Linked DNA regions of Homo sapiens: all the other regions are linked to region 3. Evidence: promoter capture Hi-C in human tissues and cell types (Jung and others, 2019). All regions are on one chromosome and are shown on one strand. Each heading gives the region's core, a stretch centred on a gene start or on the middle of the fragment in contact. The rest is flanking DNA. Distances are from core to core; before and after follow the strand shown. Region 1 overlaps ZBTB10 (zinc finger and BTB domain containing 10). Region 2 has its middle 63 kb from the start of FABP5. Region 3 holds the start of ZNF704 (zinc finger protein 704). Region 4 has its middle 32 kb from the start of LINC02986.

Evidence for each region. Contacts are between HindIII fragments. The study calls those that stand out against the background at their distance.
Region 1: a fragment that was not itself captured here is called in contact with the fragment with the promoter of ZNF704 in region 3 in 1 of the 25 tissues and cell types used here (hippocampus).
Region 2: a fragment that was not itself captured here is called in contact with the fragment with the promoter of ZNF704 in region 3 in 2 of the 25 tissues and cell types used here (dorsolateral prefrontal cortex and thymus).
Region 4: a fragment that was not itself captured here is called in contact with the fragment with the promoter of ZNF704 in region 3 in 4 of the 25 tissues and cell types used here (adrenal gland, aorta, dorsolateral prefrontal cortex and 1 more).

Annotation. Positions count from the first base shown.
Region 1 is chr8:80,516,191-80,518,955 of GRCh38, reverse strand. ZBTB10 (zinc finger and BTB domain containing 10) reads right to left here. Exons shown (of 6, transcript NM_001105539.3): 4 at 377-553; 5 at 2-174. Among named protein-coding and RNA genes, the nearest start is that of LINC02986, 22 kb to the left of the region's middle. The HindIII fragment of the contact is 4,008 bases long and covers 1-2,765 here.
Region 2 is chr8:81,216,000-81,218,699 of GRCh38, reverse strand. No RefSeq gene overlaps it. Among named protein-coding and RNA genes, the nearest start is that of FABP5, 63 kb to the left of the region's middle. The HindIII fragment of the contact is 4,498 bases long and covers 1-2,700 here.
Region 3 is chr8:80,873,326-80,876,083 of GRCh38, reverse strand. ZNF704 (zinc finger protein 704) reads left to right here and starts at 1,303. Exons shown (of 9, transcript NM_001033723.3): 1 at 1,303-1,513. RefSeq lists a silencer at 2,424-2,624. The HindIII fragment of the contact is 4,011 bases long and covers 1-2,758 here.
Region 4 is chr8:80,570,124-80,572,823 of GRCh38, reverse strand. No RefSeq gene overlaps it. Among named protein-coding and RNA genes, the nearest start is that of LINC02986, 32 kb to the right of the region's middle. The HindIII fragment of the contact is 3,112 bases long and covers 1-2,700 here.

The sequences.
Region 1 (2,765 bases), core at 5-2,504, 360 kb after region 3:
CCAGGGAATGTCTTTTTACATGTTCTCTTCGAGTAAACAGTTTTCCACAAATATCACAGCTAAATGATCTCACTCCTGTGTGAATGAGCAAGTGCCTTTTTAGTGTTCGTCTGTATTTGGCTACATAGCTACAATGAGGGCATTTTAACTTGTTCATGATTAGAGATGATTCACCTATGAGAATTAAAAAAAGAGAAAGTGCTTATTACACATTAAACAGAAAACTTGCTATCAAAACTTCTTATCTCTATCTCTGAGAACAGCAATTATGTGGAGCTACTGCTACTTGGTTTTTAAAAAATGCAGAACATGAAAGCTTTTAATTGTTAACAATTATTTAATTAATTCTGTATTTGTTTAGTTGACTAATACTTGCCATTTTCCCAGGTTTCTTGTTTTGGCCAAGATTCTGGCAATAATCCATACTTGAAATCATTTGAAGCACCTGGTATCAATCCATACTTGAAATCATTTGAAGTACCTGGTATCAATCCATACTTGAAATCATTTGAAGGACCAGGCATCAAACCATACTTGAAATCATGTGAAGTACCTAGTACAAGTAAAAATTCTGAATTAATAATGGTAATAAAGATCTGTCTCTCATCAGAGTCAGAAAACAGAAATTATATTTATATCCTACAGGCATTATGATAGAATTTCATAGTATGAGTTAAATAAAACTGTATTTTAGTCTAAAATTGAGATGTCTTCCTACTTTATTATCACAATTAAACAAAATACCATTCAACTATAGTAGAAGAAATTCAGTTAAAAAAATTAATCATGGGCCAGGCACAGTGGCTCATGCATATAATCCCAGCACTTTGCGAGGCTGAGGCAGAAGGATCACTTGAGCCCAGGAGTTTGCAACCAGCCTGGGCAACATGGAGAAACTCCATCTCCATCTCTACAAAAAAATTTTAAAAATTAGCTGGGCATGGTGGTGTGTGCCTGCAGTCCCAGCTACTGGGGAAGATCATTTGAGCCCGGGAGTTGCAGTGATTCAAGATTGCGCCACTGCACTCCAGCCAGGGCGACACAGTGGGATCATGTCTCAAAAAAAAAAAAAAAAAAAAAAAAAGGTGGCGGGCGGGAGAAAAAAACATGAATATCATTTAATTGTGCAGACGCCACAAGAAATTACCCTTTTAAAGGATGGGTATATTCAAACCAGAACTCCTAATAGTTGCTTTTTCTAACTACTCTATCACTTAAGATTTTATCACCCTAAAGCCCAGCTATCAAATGGGATATTCTCCTTATTACGAATCCAGGACAGGCACATAATTTTAAGATTAATTGGTACAGAAAAATAGACTAAGAATAAAGAATATATATAGGATAATTAAAAATGTAAAGTTCTATTACTAGATCCTTGTTTCAGACATATTAGGGCAAGGTAACTGAATGCTCTCAGGGTTCCCTGAAATTTCTTTCTAACTCCATCCTTAAATAAAATAACGTGCAGAAGATAGAATCAAAATAGAATAATACATGTGCCTAAGGATCTTCAGATTAGCAAGGACAGGAATTATATCCACTGGATTTAATTCCATCTTTAATGTAATTCCTTGGACCAGGAACCTTTTGGCAATAGGAATATATATCCAGAATCTTCCACAACTATTGCCACCCTGATCCAATCAATCATGAGCTCTAGCCCCTGGACTGTCTTCAGTAGCCACCAAAAACTTGTCTCCCTACTTCCACTGTTGCCTTCCTAGAGTCTGTTCTCAGCAGAGAAATCACAGATTCTTTAAAACACTACCTTAAGTCAGGTCACCACTCAGCTTACAAGGCTGCAAAGACTACCCACCCTCACAGTAAAAGCTAGAGACTTTCAATATCCTCCAAAGCTTTACCCGGTGGAGCCCTGGCTTCCAACCACCCTTTCCTTTCAGTCACTCTATTCCAACTATACTGACCTCTGTTCTGTTCCTCGTCCATAATAAGCATGCTCCCAATTCAAAGTGCTTAAGCTTTCCTCTGCCTAAAACACTCCTTGCCAAGATACAGTTCACTCAAGCAGCAATAATACATTTTCCTCCCATGGGCATCACGGTTTTAAAAGTAAAGAATGTTTACCCAAATGGATTTCCTAAGAATCACTTCCCATATATGTTCTCAGACATGCTGTCCCTCTTAAAAATTAAGATAACTTAAGATTCCTTTTTGGTGAAAGTCTTAATACCCAACAAAGTAAAAATGTCTCTAAAATATTTTAAAACTGCACATCATTACTATTACTGTAAACTGTGCTGTACTTGGAATACCGTCACCGGTTTTTGATGTAAAGAAAGCCCCCTGAACCCATAGCTACATAAATTCAACTATAACTCATTATAGCTGCACCTAATTAGTGTTTGGGAGTAAGTTGTAAGAATCCTAAAGTGAAGCATTTCTGTGTGAGGGATAAAGAATGGAACGGAAGTGGTAGCCTGTGGAGGTCAACCTACTGTTAGTTTCACATCTCTAAACAAAGTTTGAGCTTTATGATCCATATTTCTTGTCTAAATCAGTACAAACTCCTGCGCCTATCTTACTTGCCTTGGTTTTTCTATTGTTTAAGACACATGCCCTACAATTACTTGTAGAATAAATGTTATCTAGCAAATGCCAATACATACTTCTGACTTGCTCAAAATACTTGGAAAACTAGTACCAAAAGACACATTAGATGTTCTAGTATCTACAATTAAATATTATTCACAACATGTAAGAATAAGGAAATAGGCCAGGCACAGTGGCTCGTGCCTGTCATC
Region 2 (2,700 bases), core at 168-2,667, 340 kb before region 3:
CACTTGAGCCTGGGAGTTTGAGGCTGCAGTGAGCTGAGATCATGCCACTGCACTCCAGTCTAGGTGACAGAGTGAAACCGTGTCTCAAAAAAAAAAAAAAAAAAAAAAAAAAAGGCAGGTCCTCATAATGAAGAATATTGAAAATGAAAGCTTCATTCCATGGTCCAAAAAAAAAGTAAAAGTAAAAAGTCCATTGTAGTGCAAATCCACCTGACTAAGGGTGTAAGCCACACATGAGCACACACCAGCATGCACCCAGACATGAGCAGAGTCTGACAGCACCTCCACACCCGTGTTCCCCCAAGTAAGTCGCCCTTTGTGACTATGTCTATAATATCTTTAGGCCCATGCTTTCCACTTGTCACTATCACGCAATGATATATTTCAGAATAAAATCAACACCAGCCATCCTGCCTAAAGTCAATAGCTGTAGTTCAGGACAGTTCTATTAGGTTGGTGCAAAAGTAACAGCAAGGGACAAAGATGAGAGAAGCCAAACAGTTGTATTTGAATCCGGAAGGTACATTTTGAAACCCAATGCATTGCTACAATTCCCTCAGGTATTTCTTCTTTTACAACCAAAGGAGGCAGCTCATCCTTGAGTGGTCCCACAGAACTGTGCACTGAACAATAGTACTTATACAAATAGTAAACTGTGATACAACACTTGTCTATGAACTTGCTATTCAAAACATGGTTCCTCTCTCCAAACAGCTTCAGCATCACCTGAGGGCTCTTTAGAAACAAAGAATCAATCTCTGGCCCACTCCAGGATGACTGAATTGAAATTCCAGTTTTAACAGGATCTCCAGGTGATTTTTAAGCTCATCAAATCTGGGAAGCACTGTTCTATACGGTTCTGGGTCTTCATTGCTACCATCTCATCTCCTATTGATTTCTTAACACAATCTTCATGTGAAACTCAATTGAGTTTTGTTGCTATCTCTTTATTAGTCTCACTAGGAGGAAGAAGTCAGTAGTCACGAAATCCAATTTAATTAAATGGGCCTGTTAATTAGGGCACAAATGCTTCATCTTGAATTAATCCAGTTGATTACTCGGGTGGAGAAAATTTGCTGAGTTTACAAAGGATAATATGATGAGGTGGAGGGACAGAGCCACTAATCCTGATTTTCTTCAAAATCTACTTATACTAAATACATACAAGTTTATTTGTTAATTTCAATAAATAAATTTGAAAAAAGAAAATATCTACTTGTAATAAATATTTTAAAATATTTTACAATAATCATAGCAAAATGAAATTTTATCTTGTTGCTCAAAATTCACACTCAGTTGTTAAAATTATGAGAGCAAAATTATAAACAATTACCGCATGCATATTTATTTATTTGATTGCCAAATCCTACAGCATGCATAGGAAATACCATTTTCAAAAGGAATTAATAGAAACTCGACCAAGTCCATATGCATTTATGCAAGTCAATTTATTAATGTCAAAGATTATCAAAATACATTTGAAATGGTTTTTTTATTGTGACATTTTATAGAGAGCATTATTCAAAAATTATTGACATACTTTAATTGGCAAAGGGTACAACTGAAACTCTTATCCTTGAGAGTTCTTTTATGCTCTAGAAATACAAGCCTAAGGCAATACTACAATTAGTGTAAGTGGACTCTACTCTTTAAAAAATGTGAGACCAATTATTCTCATGACTGACGAAATCCCACATGACCTTAAGTATTCCCACAATATATCAAGGACATTTTTTCTATGGAAAGTGCCAAGAACTTATTCAGGAATGCTTTATGAAAAAGAGAATTTTCCCACAGTGGAACAGAGGAAATGCATGTTGAAAGGCAAGCACTAATATGTAATAGGAAGCATGTGACCTACTTAATTATGTGCCCTTGGGACATGCAATGTGTTTGCAAAGCAATGAAGGCCTTAAAGGTCATATTTGAGGAGCACAAATCAGATGTAAGAAGGAAGACGAAGGAATCCTGGCTGCGTGGCATCTTAATGAGATGAAACATCCTGTTACATCTTCACAGTTTATGGCTATTGACTGCGATCACAAAACCCCAAGAGAAGCAGCAGAAATGCTTATTAAAATAGTGGAAAGCATACTGCATTTACAAATGAAATATGCTGCAATTGAATGATATTAACAAAGAAATGGATTGGGCTTTTTTTCCTGTAGATTATAAAATTTGTAAGTAAAATAAAATTACATTTTTCAAATCTAATGGTTTTCCTATTACAGTCTTCAGGCCTCTTTATAGAAACAGAGGCAAGGATGATAATTCCTTGCCAAATTATATCCTCAAAAGAGCTGTCCGCAAAGTGAAATTCTCAAAAATCTCTCTCGTGTAAATAATTCATAGAGAGTTGCTGAGACCCTATTTTGAAACAGAAGACATCATGCCAAGAGCTCCAGTTGGGACTGGCCCTCTCTGTGCCCTCAGATGGCACTAAGTAATTTGGGCAAAGTAGCTGCCTTCTCACAACTTCAATGCCCGTATCTCTGAAAGGGCATTTCCCAAAATGAGTGTGCGCTTTTAATGAATTACAAATGCACATACAAAAGATGCACTTTATGGAAGCCGTCCCAGCATATTATAAATGGAACAACTATAATGACTGTCAAAGTAAGCCCAAAGCTCATGAAATAATAATACCCTGTACTTAGCATTTTTCTCTGAGGAGCTTAGAGCACTTTAGAGGCTTGAAAA
Region 3 (2,758 bases), core at 54-2,553:
AAAATGCTGTAAGAGCTTTGGGAATGGAAAGGAAGGGGTGGATTCAAAATGCATTTTAGAAAGAACAATGGGTTGGACTTGTGGGCAATTGCCTCTAGGGATAAGGTAGAGAAGGGAGTTAAAATGATACCGCTATTTTGGGCTCAAATGATTATAATGAGAGTTTCATCACCTGAAATAGGTACATCAGGAAGCTAATCTGATTCAGGGAGAACAAAAAGTTCATTTTAGAATCTTTGTCATCATCCCTGTTCAACAGTTGGAAGCCACCATAAGTGAGCATTTAATGAGCCCCATTCAAGTGTCTAACAGAGCATATGATGTTAAATGTCCAACAATAATTAACTGAAGGTGAATACACCTTTTATTCTGGCCCCACGGAGGTGCCTACCAGGGTATTTGATGCGTAAGATCCTCCCCAGCCCTCCTCTACAGGGATGGAATTGGGGGTATGATTTGAATGTAAGAAATACGACTTAAGGCCGGGCACGGTGGCTCACACCTGTAATCCCAGCACTTTGGGAGGCCAAGGCAGGCAAATCATCTGAGGTCAGGAGTTTGAGACCAGCCTGGCCAACATGGTGAAACCCTGTCTCTACGAAAAATACAAAATTAGCATGGCATGGTGGAGCGCGCCTTTAATCCCAGGTACTCAGGAGGCTGAGGCAGGAGAATCGCTTGAACCCAGGTGGCGGAGGTTACAGTGAGCCCAGACCATGACATTGCACTCCAGCCTTGGCAACAAGAGCGAAACTCCATCTGAAAAATAAAGAAATATATATAAATAAAAATTAAAATAAATAAAAGAAGAAATACCACTTACTACATAGCCTAACCCCACGCAATAGCAAATATATTTTCTTTATCACACCTAAAAATCGTCAGAAAATGGCAAAATTAGTCATGTTATGTGCTTGATTTCCAGATTTGGTCTTACTTCATATTAATTTCTTAAGTAACCAACTCAAACGATCTTGAACTCCCACCCATTTGTTTCTTCAAAGTCCTGAACAATGCCAGAAGAGAGTCTACAGATCAGACAGTGCAAACAGAAAGCTTCTTGGAATTCAGCCATTAAAATCAGGCACTCAAGGTAGAATAGCAGGAGTAAAAGCTGAAAGACCTACACACTCAGCACAGAGCCAAGGCAGCTCAATCGCAGGGCCTAGAGTGGTGCGTTCAAAGAGTGTGAGATTGGTAGACAATCGCTCATGAAACAGTGTTTCGAAAATCTAAGCGACTCTGATGATTCATATTAGGAATTCATCCCAAACCTCAGATTGGTACACCTTCCTTGATTTCACACAAGCTCAGGAGTAGCTGCCATGCACATCAGTGTCCATTAAAATGACTTGTAGCAAATCTCTACGTTCAAAGTCTAACTTTGACAGACAACCTTACTTCCAGCGAAGTCTACTCCCCTCCCTCCGGAGGGAAGAATGGGCTGCGGTTAAGCGTTTGCCCTGGTGTCAGGGCCAACTGCTTCGAAGCGCCAGACTTTCGGAGACTGTGGGTAAGAGAAAAAAAAAATCCAGTCCGGGTTTTGTCTGAGCGGGGGGACCGGAGGGTTGTGAGGAATGGCTCGCGAAGAGGGGGGCGGTGGTGGAAAACATACAACACAAACAGCTCGCGCCGAGGCACGGCAGCGGTAGGCCCGGAGCGCGCGGGCGCAGCCGGCCGGGAGAGGCGCGCGCGGGCTCGGCCGCCGGCCGCATGGAGCGCAGCGCGGCCCGCGGCTCCCGGGCGGCGGCGGCGGCGGCGGAGGCGGCAGCGCGCCGCTCGCTCACACCCACCCCCGCCCGCGGCCGCCGCGCCGCCCCGCCGTAGCCGCCGGCCGCCGGCGTCCCCGCCGGCCGGTCCAGCGAAGGCGGCGCCCGCGCCTCTGCAGCCAGTGGCAGCCGCGGGTCCTGGCCGGCGGCTCCTGCAGCCCCTTGCGGCCGCGAGTCCCCGGCCCTGCGGCCACCGGCGGAGGCAGAGGAGGAAGAGGAGGTGACAAACTCTCCGGCCCCGCGCCGCGGCCCGCAACCCCGCGCTCAGGCATGCAGGCGCGGCGTCTAGCCAAGCGCTCCAGCCTGGGCAGCCGCCGGGGGGGCGCCGCGCTGCAGCCTGCCGGGCCGGCGCCCGCGCCCGCCAAGGAAGCCGCCCTACCCGGGCTCCCGCCCCCTGTCCCGGGCCCGGCCCCGGCGCCCGCCCCGGAGAGCTGGAGGCCGCCGCTGCCGCCGCCGCCGCGCAGCGCCGGGACCGGCCCCCCTCGGGCCACCGGGGCCGCCGCCGCCGCCTCGTCGCCGGTGCTGCTGCTTCTAGGGGAGGAAGACGAGGACGAGGAGGGCGGGAGCAGGCGGCGGAGGGGGCTCGGGCGTGTGGAGGAGAAGCCCCGAGGGGGCGCGGAGGAGGAGGATGACGACGAGGAAGAGGAGGACGAGGAGGTGGTCGTCGAGGTGGTGGACGGCGACGAAGACGACGAGGACGGCGAGGAGCGTTTCGTGCCCCTCGGACCCGGCCACGCAGTCCCCAGGGGCCCGGCCCGGGGCGCGTTGAAGGTGCGTGTTGGGCGCGGTGGCGCGCGTGGGACCCGCCAGCCCGGGGAGGGGGACGGGCCCGGGCCCCGGGGCAAGGCGCCTGGCCGAGGACGGTCAGCGGCGCCGGGGAGAGACCCGGCCAGGAGGGGTGTGTCAGGCGGCGCGGGCGGCCGCGCGGGGCAGCGCGAGGAACTGTTGATTTGCCTGCGCCTTGGGCCCCTGCGTCTCTCCCAGGCGGC
Region 4 (2,700 bases), core at 152-2,651, 300 kb after region 3:
CCAATCATCCGTAGTCAAGAATGTTGATTTTAAATAGCTGATTTTGAGTTAGGGAGAAGCGGTTTCTCCTTACACCAGGTAAGTAGGCAGTCTCCAAAGACTCCCTGTGACTTTCCACATCACGTTTTAGCTCTTCCTACCTTGACTTCCAGATTCTCTAAAATATACTTATATCCTTGTTCCATGTTAACCGCTACTTATTACCATGACTTTAAAAATAATAATACACCGGGCGTGGTGGCTCACATCTGTAATCCCAGCAATTTGGGAAGCCGAGGCGGGCAGATCACTTGAGGTCAGGAGTTCGAGACCAGCCTGGCCAACATGGTGAAACTCTGCCTCTAATGAAAATACAAAAATTAGCTAGGTGTGGCTGCTTGCGCCTGTAATCGCAGCTACTTGGGAGGCTGAGGTGGGAGAATCGCTTGAACCCAGGAGGCGGAGGTTGCAGTGAGCCAAGATCACAATACTGCACTCCAGCCTGGGCGACAGAGCAAGACTCTGTCTCAAAAATAAATAAATTAATTAATTAAATAAAAAATAAAAATAAAATAAATACAAAAAATTAGTCTATTAGTCTCCTTTTATGATTCAATTAAACATCTGTTTTTCTCCCCCTCATTTATCTTAGAGATCATCTAATTCACTCTATTACAAACCAGAGATGTTAAGTGACTTACCTGGGGTCATACATTTGTGGCAGAACCCTCTGTACAGGGTTTTTTTCAGTTATAAAGTGCTGCCTCCTACTGAGGTTTGTGTCTGGGACCCCAGGACAAAATAAGAAAGGACATAGCAGGAATCTCACCTAACCTATGTCTCAGCTCAGAGGGGAAAACTTCACAGAAGGGATCAGTCTGGCATAAGCATACCATTGAACAGGTGTTTCAAGGGGGCAGGACTTGGATGACCAGATCTTAGAAGAAAGACTTAGTCTAAGTCTCTGTGCATTCTGGAGAGGCCTTGCTCACCAGAAAGCCCAATGTTGGTGTTCAGCTGCTGCCCACCTTAGGGTACAATGAACCCTATTCTGCTGGAAGAGTTGTTCCATCAAAGAAACGGGATCTTTCTCAGAAGTCTCATGCAAATATTAATTCATTCAGACAAAAGCAGATGAGTAGACACTGGGTGACTTTGAACCACTATTCAACCGACTCTGGGCCTCCATTATCAAATAAAATGGTTGGATAAGAACTAGGCAACTTCCATGATGGCTCATAGCTCTAAAATCTCATGATTCCATAATAAGTAAATAGAAATAACAGAAGAAATTCATCAGACAATAAACACAAAACAGACATTAAGTCCTCAGGCTAAATGCAATTTTTAAAATTCAGCCATTTTTTTTTAAAAAACCCAAATAATTAAAAGCTTAAAATTTTTAAGAAAATGATCTTATAACCACTGCATGAAACACTATCAACAATAAATTGTTTTTTAAATTATGAAAATAGGCCGGGCGCAGTGGCTCACGCCTGTAATCCCAGCACTTTGGGAGGCTGAGGCGGGTGGATCACGAGGTCAGGAGATCGAGACCATCCTGGCTAACACGGTGAAACCCCGTCTCTACTAAAAATACAAAAAATTAGCCAGGCATGGTGCACACGCCTGTAGTCCCAGCTACTTGGGAGGCTGAGGCAGGAGAATCGCTTGAACCCGGGAGGCAGAGGTTGCAGTGAGCCAAGATCGCGCCACTGCACTCCAGTCTGGACGACAGAGCGAGACTCCATCTCAAAAAAAAAAAAAAAAAAAAAGAAAGAAAAGAAAACTCTACATATTAAATTTTATGACACAGCCAAGTGATTCCCTTCTGCCTCCTATGACACTCTTAAACATAGATTACCTCATGGTAACAATACTGTTCTGGAGCAGAAAGATACCCATCTTACATAGGAAGACATTGAAATCCAAAGAAATGGATCTCAGGTGAAATACCATGCTCATGAGACCATAACCTAAAGTTTCAAGCAGTAGGCAAAACTGGAATTTTTTGAAATCAAGGGAAGCTTTATGTTATCCAATAATACTTTCATTTTGATTTTTTAAAGGCTAATGATAAAAAATTAAAAATAAAAACACAAAAGTACAAAAAAAGCTAATGATGAAACTGCACATTTAGTAGTTAAATACTAAAACAATAAAACAGGGCCGGGGGCGGTGACTCATGCCTGTAATCCCAGCACTTTGGGAGGCCTAGGCAGGCAGATCATTTGAGGTCAGGAGTTCGAGACCAGCCTGACCAACATGATGAAACCCCATCTCTACTAAAAATACAAAAATTAGCCAGGCATGGTGGCACATGCCTGTAGTCCCAGCTACTTGGGAGGCTGAGGCAGGAGAATGGCTTGAACCAGGGAGGTGGAGGTTGCAGTGAGCTACGATCCCACCACTGCACTCCAGCCTGGGCGACAAGAGTGAAATTCCATCTCAAAAAAAAAAAGACAATAAAACAAATTAAAGATGATATTGAATTCTTTAATTATGCAGTTTAAGCTTACATATTTGAAAATATGAGTAAACTTATTTCCCTCAAAAATGCCAAAAATTGCTATCAAATAGACTCAGCTATTTTTAGGAACTTTGGAAGTATAAAAGTTGAAAATTTTTCTTCATGTTTGCCAATTTGAAAAACATCCTATTGAAGAATGTGTGCATGTGTTTGTGTGTGTGTGCGTGTGTGTGTTGAACTGTTCCTTGGTG